3 separate regions of the Homo sapiens genome follow, and all the other regions are linked to region 2. Evidence: promoter capture Hi-C in 16 types of primary human blood cells and fetal thymus (Javierre and others, 2016). All regions are on one chromosome and are shown on one strand. The core of a region is centred on a gene start or on the middle of the fragment in contact, and the rest is flanking DNA. Distances in the headings are between cores, read along the strand shown. Region 1 overlaps FAM200B (family with sequence similarity 200 member B). Region 2 holds the start of LCORL (ligand dependent nuclear receptor corepressor like). Region 3 holds the start of PACRGL (parkin coregulated like).

What was found. Contacts are between HindIII fragments. The CHiCAGO score rates a contact against its expected background, and 5 or more counts as called.
Region 1: a contact is called between a fragment that was not itself captured here and the fragment with the promoter of LCORL in region 2, in 1 of 17 cell types (naive CD8 T cells). The highest score is 5.2, in naive CD8 T cells.
Region 3: a fragment that was not itself captured here is called in contact with the fragment with the promoter of LCORL in region 2 in 8 of 17 cell types (naive CD8 T cells, non-activated CD4 T cells, total CD4 T cells and 5 more); the score reaches 17.1 in naive CD8 T cells.

The regions. Positions count from the first base shown.
Region 1 is chr4:15,682,503-15,686,908 of GRCh38, reverse strand. It overlaps FAM200B (family with sequence similarity 200 member B), which reads right to left. Exons shown (of 2, transcript NM_001145191.2): 2 at 1-673. Among named protein-coding and RNA genes, the nearest start is that of FAM200B, 2.9 kb to the right of the region's middle. The HindIII fragment of the contact is 1,207 bases long and covers 2,078-3,284 here.
Region 2 is chr4:18,019,246-18,023,294 of GRCh38, reverse strand. LCORL (ligand dependent nuclear receptor corepressor like) reads left to right here and starts at 1,540. Exons shown (of 8, transcript NM_001394446.1): 1 at 1,540-1,697. The coding sequence starts at 1,544. RefSeq lists an enhancer at 909-1,168 and silencers at 1,219-1,678, 1,999-2,328. The HindIII fragment of the contact is 12,000 bases long and covers 1-4,049 here.
Region 3 is chr4:20,697,548-20,701,940 of GRCh38, reverse strand. PACRGL (parkin coregulated like) reads right to left here and starts at 1,483. Exons shown (of 9, transcript NM_001258345.3): 1 at 1,154-1,483. RefSeq lists an enhancer at 1,251-1,370. The HindIII fragment of the contact is 2,624 bases long and covers 611-3,234 here.

The DNA.
Region 1 (4,406 bases), core at 1,432-3,931, 2.3 Mb after region 2:
ATATACAGTCTAAATAACATCTTTTCAAAAACTACACTCAAAGTTTGCAATTGAATCGAATATTTCAGACTTCACAACTAGTTGCAAGTAATTGTAATATAAAACTTGACTATAGAACATTAACCGTGCTATTATGAAAATCAAGCAAGACACCCAGGAATCAATGACTGAAAACCATTTCTTAGCCAATATACATTCTATTCATCATATCTCCTCCATCAAATACCCCTCTCGCATATTGAAATTGACCTCAGCATTCCTTGCAATGTGCACAATTCAGGCAAAGGATTCATGCAAAACACTTTGGTATTTTACATTTTATTTTGTTTTTTAGACAAATGTTCATTGTGACTCACAGAATTGATTTCATGCCTCACTAATGGGTCTCACATATACCATGAAAAATACTGATATAGAGACATTTTGTGCCTTTGCTGTGTTGGTACCTTGAGTATGTCTGCTTGATGATGAAAGAGACTGGCTGATCTGCTAGACTGTTGACTTGTATAAGAACATCTTGAAGTGGTGGGAATTTATCTTAGATTTTCATTCCTGGATCATTTTTATGGTCTGATCCAGTGAGGAGCCAATGAGGTTTTCCATGGCTAGGTCAAATATCAGGTTGGAGTTGATGGTATATTTTTATAGAACTTTCCTGGAATGCATCCTTGACCTGGGAATAAGACCAGAGATAAGACATTAAAGCATCACAGTACAAAGTAGTATTACTGCCAGCTATGGGGGCCTTTATGATATCCAAGATCATAGATGGTGAGGCAAACAGTCTATAGCTCTCTTTATCACTATCTTATATTGGCTTAGGCCTATTTCTGTAAGGCAAACCACTTCAACTGAGATTAGTAAATAGAAAAATAGTGACAGTAAAACCCAGAAGTTGGCATCAGGACTTGGAAAGTATATTAACAAAACAGAATACAGCAAGCCATGAAGGAGTATAGCTTATTCACCATACATACTTCCTTTTTGCTTGGCCGCACCTATCTTGGTCATGCCTGCCTTGGTAGTGCTGCACTGCTCTCTTGGATCATAGTATATTTCAGTCTTATGACCATAACAGTAGTTTCAACCCTTCCTTACACACCTTTCCATCAAATTATCTCAAATTTTTTGGGAGGGGTGCAGTCCTACATTTACTGTAGTGTTTATTTATTAAAATTTCCACGTCTTAACTGTGTTAATACTGTATCTTTATTATGACTGTTTGTATTAATTGTACTTTCTTATTTTTGTATTGTTAATCATTTGGTATCTAGGTGGGTCCTTGATGACTGGAGAGGTACTACCTCTCCCAGGGTTAGCTAATTCCTATGCAAACTAACCAATCCAGAATCCCCCAACTCCCAACACAGACATCTTGGGTTCTTATACTCCTGGCCAATATTGCCCTATCCTAATCACTCCAGACCAGCTACCAGGCAACTAGGGATATCCCCTACGCCCGAAGTCGGCCAAAATTATTTCAACTAGCCAATTTTAAACCTGTTCAAGCCTGCTTATCCAGTTTTGCCCATTCCTTCCTCAGAAAACCAAATAAAGGCTTTCCTGCAGTTTCCTTGTACTTCCTCTCCCCATTGACCCTGCTGCTTCTAGGTATGGCACCCTTGCATGGTGTAAGGTGCCATGCTTCCTGTTTCTAGGGATCCATGAGTATAAAAATTTCTTCTTTCATGACAATCATTTTCACATCTGCATATCTTACCATATCTGATTAAAATAAATCCTGGGTACATTTTAAAACACTATTATTTTGTGTTATTGGTCTAGTTACAAAGTTGTATAGTTTGGCCCTAAACCTCTTTTTCCTGATCAGGTTTTATACCTTTTAATACAATTATTTTGCAGACCATGACTTCTTCTAGGAAATCAAAGTCCTAAATGCTTTAACGATGGTTAAATAGCTACAGATTACATATGGTACCTGATTGTACCTTAAAAGGTGTGCATCTGGGAGAGAATTCAGGACCTGGTAGATGCCTTTGACTTAATCTTGGTTAGATGCTTCCTTGAAAGATGACATGTTACAAATAGTTAACCTTGGCTGGAAAGAGACAAAGCTTTTCTTAGGAGGTTTTATGTCCTCTGTCGAGGACATTAGCAGGACTAAAGAGTTTATGGTACATACCTCTTGCATGTCCCAGCACAGTGGGTGGTCATCAATGTATTCAGAACTACACTGCTAAAGGCAAATGCATCTAGATCTCTTTCTAATGCATAAGAAAAGCTGAAGGGCAATACACAGCCTTGAGGCAGTCTAAGCCAGATAAACAGCTGCCTGAAAGGGAATACTGACTCTTCCTTCCATAGTTAAAAGTTCATATAAGGATGCTAACATGTTTTAATGCTTCAACTTTCCCCCAAGAAACCTCAAACTACTACAATTTTGTCCTTCTGCCACCTCTCCCTAGATATTTATCATATATAGCTCAAGAAAAACAGTGCTAAACAAAACATGTTAAACAAAACATGCTACAAAGTCTTTTGTTTGACTTTCTTTACTTATATCTCCGAAAGCGGCTTTAATGAGAAGCCAGAGGAATTTTAGGGGAGAAGTTCAAACCTGAGGTTCTGGCCTAAACATAAATTCTGGAACTTTAATTTAAATAGACATGCTCAATTAGTACTCAATGTAAATCAGAGCATGTTCATACCCGAACACGATCAAGTACACCAGTGTGATTCCATAACCCAGGTGGGTTCTGCTGGCCCAAACACCAAAGACCTATAAATGTGTACACTGATGCTTAAGATGTGTGCACTGAAATTGGCTCCTGCGGCTACATGGCAACATTTCCAAGTAATAACTTTATTCAGCTATCCATCTACTTAGCCTCCCTTAAGAATTGCAATTAAGGTAATCAAATATTTGTAGTTGAAAGTTTCTCATACACCAAGGTGCATTAACACGGTTATATGATATGGTTTTAGGTAAGTGATTTTCCACTAATAAATCTTATCTACCTGTTCCTAGAATAGTGCTTGCTGTATGGTAGTTACTCAATGCATATGAGAGAATGAGAAAATTAATGACACCTGTAGTAAACTGTACAATGTACACTCTATTTTTATCACAGTCAGTAACAAATAAGTTATCCAACTATATTTGGACAACTGGGAAATATGTAAGACGAAGGCTAATAAAACATATTATTTAAAACAGGATTGTTAAAGATTCTACTTCATAATAAACTGCTTATGTTAAGAAATAGTAGAAACAATGATCCTATAAAAACATACATGTAAATTTAGATTTAGCTTTTAAAGCTTAGAACCTAAATCTACCTGAAAAAAAGAAATATACATTAAAAAAGTATCTTATTTTTATATTACTATATATGGATCATTTATCTCTTAGAAGCAATTGTCTTTTAACTATTCCATTCTTTCATATTCTTACTATTCACGTTTCAATCCCCCCTTGAAAGTTTGTAACACTAGTTCAGTTACTATTGTATTAAAAAGATATTTTTAAAGGGTTTACTCTCCCTCCTAAATCAGACAGTTCATCTATAGTAACAGCAGTGGCAGTATATTAGGGAACAGGTCTGGTAGATGTGGTGATGAAAGCATGGGGAAGTTTTTTTTTAACTCAATAGGATGTGAGGTATCATCTAAGTAAGAGGCCGAAGTAGAAAATGTTGCAAGTTTGTCAGAAGAAAATATGAAATATTAATAATTGTTAAGGAATGTGATAATATGATGGACTAGGAAAATGTTTTTGGATTTTTAGTCTGGCTGGTTGTCTTACTTGCTTAATGCAATGATTGTTATTGTTACAATGCTTGATAGTCTAAAATTCCCCGTCACTAATCTTTTATATCCTAAGATATATCTCTAGTGCGCTGTATCATCTTCTGAAAATACAGCTCTAATCAGCTTCCTCATAACTGGAAAAGCATTTAATGGCGCCGAGCTTGTGTAAGCTCTTCAGGATAATATCCTTTAAGCTTAAGCCTCATCTTTCCAGGTTTCTCCTTCATCACATGATCTCCATACATTCTACATTTCAGTACTAAAAGTATGGAAATTCTTGAAATAGTTCATGCACTTTCATGTCTCTGCTTTTGGCTAGTATTCCTTTTGCCTGGAATACTCTTGTTGGGTCACATGAAGTCCTATTTATTCTTTTCTACTTAGTTCAAATGCTACAGCAGCCATGCATTCAACTAACATTTAGCTACCTACAGTGCCTAAAGTATGTCAGGCACTGGAGATACTAAACAATGAACAGTGACATATTAAAATAACAGAATATCTGTTCAGCTATTAAGATGAATAAGGTGGAGTTACACAACACTGACAAATCTCAAAAACATTATGTAAAACAAGCTAGCTGCAAAAAGATGTACACATTACAGATTGCATAAAGGTGGTTAGGAGAGTGGTTT
Region 2 (4,049 bases), core at 291-2,790:
GTGATTATGCGTTCAAACTTTATTATTTTTAACTTATGAAGATGCAAAATTACATCTTCACTACTGAAGTCATAATGAGCAAAGAAATACTTTCTCATAGGAAGAAAAAGAAGGTGGATAAGGATAAGCCACAAAACAGGGAAGGTGGTACTGAATTCAGAGTTTATGAGATTTCCAAGAAGAATTAAACATATTTCCCACAGACTTGTGAATAAATTTCCAGAAATACACAGTACTTCTTAGCAAACGTTGGGTAGCTTAGCTTCGGCTTGATAAACTGCACTTATACGGAAACAAACGCACAATCGCTCTGGTGCAAAAGTAAAAACTGTGATTGGAGTCTGTATTTAAACGTAAGATTCCTCTCTAGCTCTCTCTGAAGAAGTTATTTTCTCTAGCACGTGGTAGAATTCATTCCATTAACCTTTGTAAAGTGCTTAATCCCGTGTCACGCACTGTACTAGGGTCTAGCGAGTGACAGATGTCACGGTACAGAGATCTCAGTGGGTCGCTGCCCTCCAGGAGCTTATAAAGAAAATTTTCCTTCTGCAGTTTTCAGCCGGCTACACCCAGTCCCCTGCAAGTAATTTTCAGTGAAAAAAACCCGCATCTTTTTCCTAGTCCTTGCAAATATTCTGGCTTTCCGAGATCTCTTCGCCTTGAATACCGAAGTCACTCCGGGATCTCTCTCTGGACGTTTGGCAGTTATTCCAGATGTAGCCGAATGACCGGCTTGCCCTTTCCCTGCGGAGTGACAGGAAGACAGCGACCCCGGAAAGTTTCCAGCACTTAAAACGCAAAGCGCAGCCTGAACCCACAAGGAGCCGACAACTCTTGCGGCTTCCACCACCCTTCTATCGCGGAGCCTAAGGAAGCTAAAGCAGTCGGGTCAGACCCGGCCACCGGGCAGCGCATGGTTCCGGGCGCAGGGAGCGACAGACTCAGCCCCCCAGCGGCGCGGCGCAGAGAAGTTGCAGGCCAGCCTGCATACCCAAGTGCGGGGGGGAAGAAAAACAAACAAACAAAAAAAATCCTTTCTTCTGGACTACAATGACCGGCAAGCAACGCGCCACGGCGCCAAGTTCAGCTTCGGGATCCTGGCGAAATGGAGCCTGGGAAGTGAAGTCTCCGGACTGTCGGAGTCCCGTAGTGAAGGCAGAAAGTAGGCGTTGCTAGTCCGCTCCACTAGCACGCCGGTTCCTGGCTGGGCTCCGGGTCTCTCGCTCCCGCTCAGGGTTTTCGCGGGCGGCGGGAGCGGTATGGCTCGCCTGAGTAAACTCCAGCGGGAGGGGGAGGAGGGTAGTGGGTGGGGAGGCGGGGTCAGCGGAAGCGGCAGGTTGCTTCCTTCTCCTCTGGCTCCCTCCCCGCCTCTCCCTGAGGGAGCGGTGGGAGGGGGAGGGCAGGGCAGAGGGAAGGTAGTGACACGTGTCAATCAACCCCCCTCCGGGGGGCGCGCGCTCCGGGGCTCGCGCCGAGGGCTCGCGCCCCTGCCTCGTGCCTGCGCTGCTCGTATGTAAATGAGGGCGCGTGACGCGGGACGCAGATGGACAAGGGAAGAGAGAGAATGGCCGCTGCCGCCGCCGCTGCTGCCGCCGCCGCCGCCGCCGCTCAGTGCCGGAGCCCTCGGTGCGCGGCGGAGAGAAGAGGATTCCGGCGGGAACTCGACTCTTGGCGCCACCGCCTCATGCACTGTGTAGGTAAGAGAGACGCGGGCCGGGGCCCCGGGCTCCGCGCGGCGACCGCTGTCGCAGCCCGAGGAGTTTGTGGCTGAGGGGTTTAGTTGAATCTCCCGTTCGGGTTAGTTCGGTGGGGGAGCGAGATGGGAGCGGCGCGGCGCGGCGGCCCCGGCGCTCGCCTTTTGTCTTGCGGGCTGCTGGCCCGGCGCGGTCCGCGCTCCTTCGCCTTCCCAGCTCTTGGGCTCCCCGGGAACTGTTAGTTTGGACCCGCTTGCTGAGCCCCCGCGGAAGCCGCCCGCTCGCTCTCTCCCCGAAACTCCTCGGCGCCCGTCGCTGCCCGCCGTCGCCCGCCGTCCACCCTGACAGGACGGAGGAAGCGGCCCGGTGGGTCGGCGCCCTGGCGGAGGAGAGCCGGCGGGCAGGGCGGCCGGAGGAAGGCGGGCTGGTCCGCGCCCCCGCCGAGCGCACACACACCCCCTTGTCGCCGCCGGGGGCCGGGTGAGCAGACGCGGCCAGTTCCCGGGGACCTGGACCTGGAGACCCACGGGCACTCGCAGGGCGGGGGCCGCTGATGGGCCGGCTGGGGGCGAGGGGCGGCGGGGGCGTCGTCCGAGGGGCGGGGGGCGCCCAACTCTGCCCTCTCGCGCTCGGCGGCGGCGCTGTGTGTACCCCTTTAAGAAGGAGCCGCTTGAGCGCTGACGGTTGGGATTTGAAGTTCTTCCTCCCTCTTTGGAAGTCTGGACGGATGGGGGGTGTTGCCACGGCAACGACACCCTCCCCCCCGTCTGCTTGCGGACGCCCCGACGACTCTGGTCCTCTTTCACTGTCATGTGATGGACTCTTCCTTACACACACACACACATATACACGCATACGCATCGCCCTCCCCACCTCCCATCCCCATTCAACTGCAATTCCCTCTTTTTGGTTGGATCTGAATCGTTTTGCCTCAAACTTCTGGGCTTGGGGCTCTCACCCTGTGGATTGTTTAGGGTGACAGGAATGGTGGGACTCCCGACCTTGCTGCAGTCGCTTTTTTTTTTTTCTTTTTTTGCCTAAGACGAATGCATAGAGCTGTTATCCAGCAGGTTGGTTTAGTGGGCTTAGAGGGGCGAACACGGATTATGGAATGGGGCGCGTTGTGGGTGTTTGTTTTGGAAGGGGGTTATGGGTGGGAGTGTAGGGGAAGAGGTAGAAAGGAAGGTTGTATTGTGTAAGCAGTGGATAGTGGCAGCAGCTTGCTCTACTGGCGAGTGAATCTTGGCATTTGGAGTTGGGGAGTAACCCTAGTGTCTTAAGAAAACAACTCTCTTACCTTGTTTCCATCTGCTCTGGCACCACCTCGCACCCCCGACCCCGCCTCCCATGTATTTGGTTAACGTCTTAAGATCTTTTTTTGACTAGTAGAGAAGAGATCGTATTAGGTTAAACTTAATACAATTTCAGTTCAGAAATGTGTACCGCAGAACGCGATGAATATAGGAAAATGTATGAGAAAGGAAGGTTACTTTAGGGGGCATTTAAGTGATGTTTAAGTAATTTACTGCTTTTGTTTTGCCCTTACGAAAAATGTATTTTGGTCTTCTCTAAGGAAAGATGATGAGAAATAGCTTTAGTCAAGTATTCGTAAGTGATTTTAGTTTATGAAGTGTAAAAAAAAACCTCTAGGTATTCTTTATATAAATTGTTTAAAAAACTAAATATTGTTGTTTGTGCTTCTTGAATACAAAATGGGCTGTTTTTGATAATTGCTTATGTAAAGATCTCTTCTGGAAACCAATTTAGAAATTACTGAGCTCATTTAGGTAGAATTAGGTAGGATGACAGCATTGCAACACTGGCTTATGATATTACTGTTAAGTTTTGTCAAGGCACAAAGTGATTTGAGGATGTCTTTTTATGTTTTGGAATATTTTGGTTGGTTTTTTTTTCTGGTCTTCTTGCTTATTTAGATACATTAAGTATAGCTTTGCATCATAAAAATAGATAGACTTGAAAAATAGTCAAACTTTAAATGAAACACAATTCATTGGATTTGATGGAAAAGGGGACTAGAATATCTTTTTGCCTTACCTACTTGTATATTCAAGTAAAATTGGAAGACATTGAAAGTTACTACTGTATTACACTTTTATTGCAATATGTGATTACATTGTATCGTATGTGAAAAGAAATTTTGTCCCTGGCTTCTAACTATATTTGAGAATTGTTTCCCACAGTCTCCATCCTAATTAAGCCCTATTAAAACCTGTCTCATATTCTTTGTTATTTATTTATTTATTGAGATGGAGTCTTACTGTCGCCCAGGCTGGAGTGTAGCGGTGCTATCTCAGCTCACTGCAACCTCCGCCTCCTGGATTCAAGCGATTCTCC
Region 3 (4,393 bases), core at 673-3,172, 2.7 Mb before region 2:
TTAGAGAATTTCCTTCCAAAACAATTGCTTTTTCACTTAAAATTTTTATCCTTTACCTTAACGACAAATTACAGTTGGCTCTCCGTATATGCGGGTTCCACATCTATAGATTTGACCCAACCACGGATACGGAGAGCAGACTGGAGGACTTTGGCATGGGTGGATTTGGGTATCTGAAAGAGACTGGGGGGAGGGAGGGAGTCCTGGAGCCAATTCTCCACGGACACCAAGGGACGACGGGAAATGTAGTCAATTTTTTAAAATAATATCCACCTGGAAGCATGCCACTGACAAGCCTGGAGCATGAGTTGTTTGTGAAAGCAAGCTTTAAAAATCTTATCCTTGGTAACCCTTTCAAGTGGTTTTTCATTAAATAACATGTAGAGGATGGTGTAAAGGGGCAGTGATGGGGAGAAGCGAACCTGTAAGAACTATTTTGTGTTACAAATATTATCAAGGTCACCGCTCATTCTTTTACAAAACAAGATAAACATTCTAATTATAGATATTAGAATCCATAAATCCACTTAACTTCGAACACCTAAACTATGTCACAATATCAGAAAGCAAACAAACCACCCTATGAAGCCCACACATTCCCCTTAAAGCTTCCTTGGTTGCTACAGGTCATCTATCTACAAGGGACTGCCGGTATCTGTGTCAATGGTAGGAAAGTGTACTTTCTATCATTGTTTGGGCAGCTGATATAGCCTATTTCTTTCCCTGTATGTACTTTCTCCCGTACTCAGCTTTAAGACCACTGAACTAAAACAATTCTCAGTCAGCAGAGCCCTGCTTTCTAATCCAGGTCTAGAAAGTTCCAAACGTGTAAGTAAGAGCCCCACTAAAGAAACCATGTTCCATTTGTAAAGCTCTGTCAAATTCTAAAAGACCCAGAGCCCAATAGTCACTTATCCCAGTCCCTTTTTTACCAGAAAGTAAATTCAAAGGGCCAGTATTAGGGTCGCACAATCTGCTTAGGGGTCTTAGAATCTATTTTCCACCTTCCCAGCCACCCCTCCTACACTCACTTCTAGATACTTAAAGACCAGTCCAGAGCCAGGATGCTATCAAAGTCAGCAAAAGAGGAAGACACAGAAAAAAAATAAAGAAAAAACAGAGATTTTTTAAAGGGGCCGAGGGAGGAGTTTACCAGTTTCAATTAAGGTTAACGAAGGCTACTCTCGACTGACCCTCTACCCCAGGAAAGGAGGGGTACACTCCAAGCGCTCACGATCTCAAGGGTCCTTAGCAACGGGGTCCAGCGGCCCTAGCAACAGATCAGGAAGCAAGCCGGCTTGGCAGAGAGCGCAGACAGGACACCTGTACCCGCGGTTCACGGCTCCGGGGACCCGTTCCTACCGCGCCTCTCTCCCGCCGCGATCCGCACACCAGCTGCCCCCCACCGGGGGGGGCTTATGACCGGCACTCGGTCGGCCAACAACCGCGGCTACCGCCACCGAGCGCCTGCGTTTGGGGAAATGAGGCTCCGCGCGGCCCGCCCCTGAACCTGGTCGCGCCGCGCAATGACGTCAGACGCACGCTGCGTCGTCTAAACCAATGGTAAGAGGTCGCGGAGGCGCCCCAGAAGAGGGTTGCCCAGGCAACCAGGCGCCAGGAGTTCAGGGGGCAGCTCACGCACTGCAGGCGCTGTCTCTGGCGACAAAGGGGCACGTGGTGGAGGATGTTTTTCGAATAAGAGGTCCGGAGAGCAGAGGGACGATGACGGGTTCCCAGTCGCCTGCGCCCTAGCCTCTCTTCAGTCCATGTGCTTAACTCCTAAACGCTTTTCTCGCACACTTAATACTCATTGTTCCTCAGCTATCTTACCCTCAATACTCGGAGAACTGAAGACTGTGAACTCCTCCCCCCGAGTCTTCAGGGGTGAGAGCCGAAGCCATCTGCATGCCCAGCTGTGGGATTTTCTTGTAGTTTCCTGTTCTATCTGGCTAAATCATAAGCCTAGCTGTGGAAATTCGTTTCCTGTCGTATTTTATGAATCTCATATGCTATTGCATTCTTCACAGTATATCCGCATTTAAATAGTAAAAAGCACGATTTTGTGCTCTACATTATTTTTAATAGTAAAAATATTTAATAGTGAAAAGCACGATTTTATGCTCCACATCATAACAAAACTGATGCTGCAGGAAAATGCATATTCCCTTGTATTGCATTCCACCAGCAACAATTTGGGTTGTCATAGTTAAGTCCAAGCCCTTTGGACCTGTCCACTGCACTCCTCTTTAGCATCCTCTACTGTTGCCAACCCAAAGCCCTAACTTTTTGCTTAGGTAACACTAAATTGGCATTGTCTGAGCACTCGAGGCTGTGTAATCCTTCTGTGCTCCTGTAGCTCCATCCTTGCTACTTGACCAGCACCCCAGAAGCATCTTCATTAGATTGTGAGTTTCCTCAGGATAAGGATTTTAACTTTGCCCTTTTTATTTCTCCAGCTTCAAGCATAATGCAGTGGGTATTCAACTAATGTCTTCTGAATGAATAAAATGAATTAATAAATTCTGTCTATGTCTAATTTCTCTAATGTTCTGTGAACCTTGCATACAAATCTAAGTTTTAAAATTTATTATAATGTATTTACCTATCTTTCTCACTAGACTGAAATTGTCTTTATTGCTTTTCTATCCCCAATGCCTAGCGCAATGCATGCTTAACTAACGTTTTTAAAAGGAAAAAGAAATTTTTAAAAAAAAAAATCTTATATCCTGTATCTTCAGCTACTTTTACTTTATAATCTCTCATCTCCAGCTTCCTCAAGACTTATTATATTTTCCTTACTCCTAGCATCTCCAGTGTCAGACTCAGTAGAGCTCCTAGTTCGTGACCTTTTAACCCCTCCTCCCTGGACTATAAGAATGATTTGTATTCAGTATCGCAGAGGAATGACAAGCATATGTGTTCTGGAGTTAAGCTATCTAAAACTCACCACCCCTTATCAGCTATGAGTCCTTGTGGATGACGACTCCTACAAGCCTCAATTTCCTCTTCATTATTGGGTTATTGCGAGACTTAAATTTAAGAGGACAATTGAATACCTGACACATAGGAAGTACTCAATAAGTATTAGCTAGTGCAATTATTCAGGTGAAAGCAAATTAAGACTAACGTGGAGGACATCGTAAGTGGCAAAAGTCTCATGCTATGTGTTGGTGTATGAACCATGGACGATGACACGGATTTTTCAGATCTTTATAATAACAATTAGTATAAGCTTCTCCTAATCACAGTTAAAACAGCCTCTTCTAAACTTTCTGTCATCATTTTAGAAAATGAACAGAAAACATGCTCCTTGGCATTGCAACTCTATCAGGATATTATGCAATAAGTGGTGGGTGCTTTCTTGAATACACTGGTTTGACAAGCCTGTGAGGCATCCAGGGGGAGCTAACTAGCATGCTGTTGGATCTGCTCATCTAGAGGGCAGGAAAGAGAACTGGGCATAGCTATGGATTTTTGAGCCATCAGCATATGTAGACGCTGAGTTGGGCGATAGGAGTAATACCTTCTAGGAAAGCTCACAATATGTGAGAAACAGAGCACTGATTGTGGACTTTTGTCTTCTATTCAGGTTTTAAGGTTTAATTTTCTATTTAAGAGAGAATGGGATGAGGGAAAAAAGGTGACCTATTTGCCTAGCAATATAGTAAATGATTCTGAAAAGACAGAATATGCCATATATTTTCTGTTTGCTCTCATATAGGTACACTCTTCCCTTTGTCCTGTTATTTGCTCTGGGATGCTGATCAGCATAAACTATATCACCCAGGCTCCAGTGCCCTCTGGTTTCTGATTGGGTTTGGCTACTGAAGAACACTAATAGGAGATTAGAGAATTAGAGGAGAGTGAAGTCAGAGTATTCATTCTCCTGCTCCTATCCTTAGGGGGTTCCCTAAAGCTGGTCATACCCATAAGTGAAGATCACATCTTTCTGCTATAGTCTGATTGTTTCTGTTCCTCCAAAATTCATAGATTGAAATTTTAACTCCCAAGGTGATGGTATTTGGAGGTGGGGCTTTTGGGTGGCGATGAAGTCATAGGGTTGGAACACTCGTGAATGGAATTAGTGCCCTAATAATAGAGGCCTGAGAGAGAACACTCACTCCTTCCACTATGTGAGGACACAGTGAAACAATTTCATCTGTGAACCAGAAAGTAGTCCCTTACCAGACACTGAATCTGTTGATACTTCGATGTGGACTTTCCAGCCTCCAGAACCATGAGAAATCAATTTCTGTTGTTTATAAGCTACTCAATGTACGGTATTTCACTATAGCAGCCCAAATAGACTAAAAAACTTTCTAAATGGCAAACTTCAGTTCTAGGCACAAAATCTCAGAGGCTACTATCTCTAGGTTACTGCACTGTCTGTGTG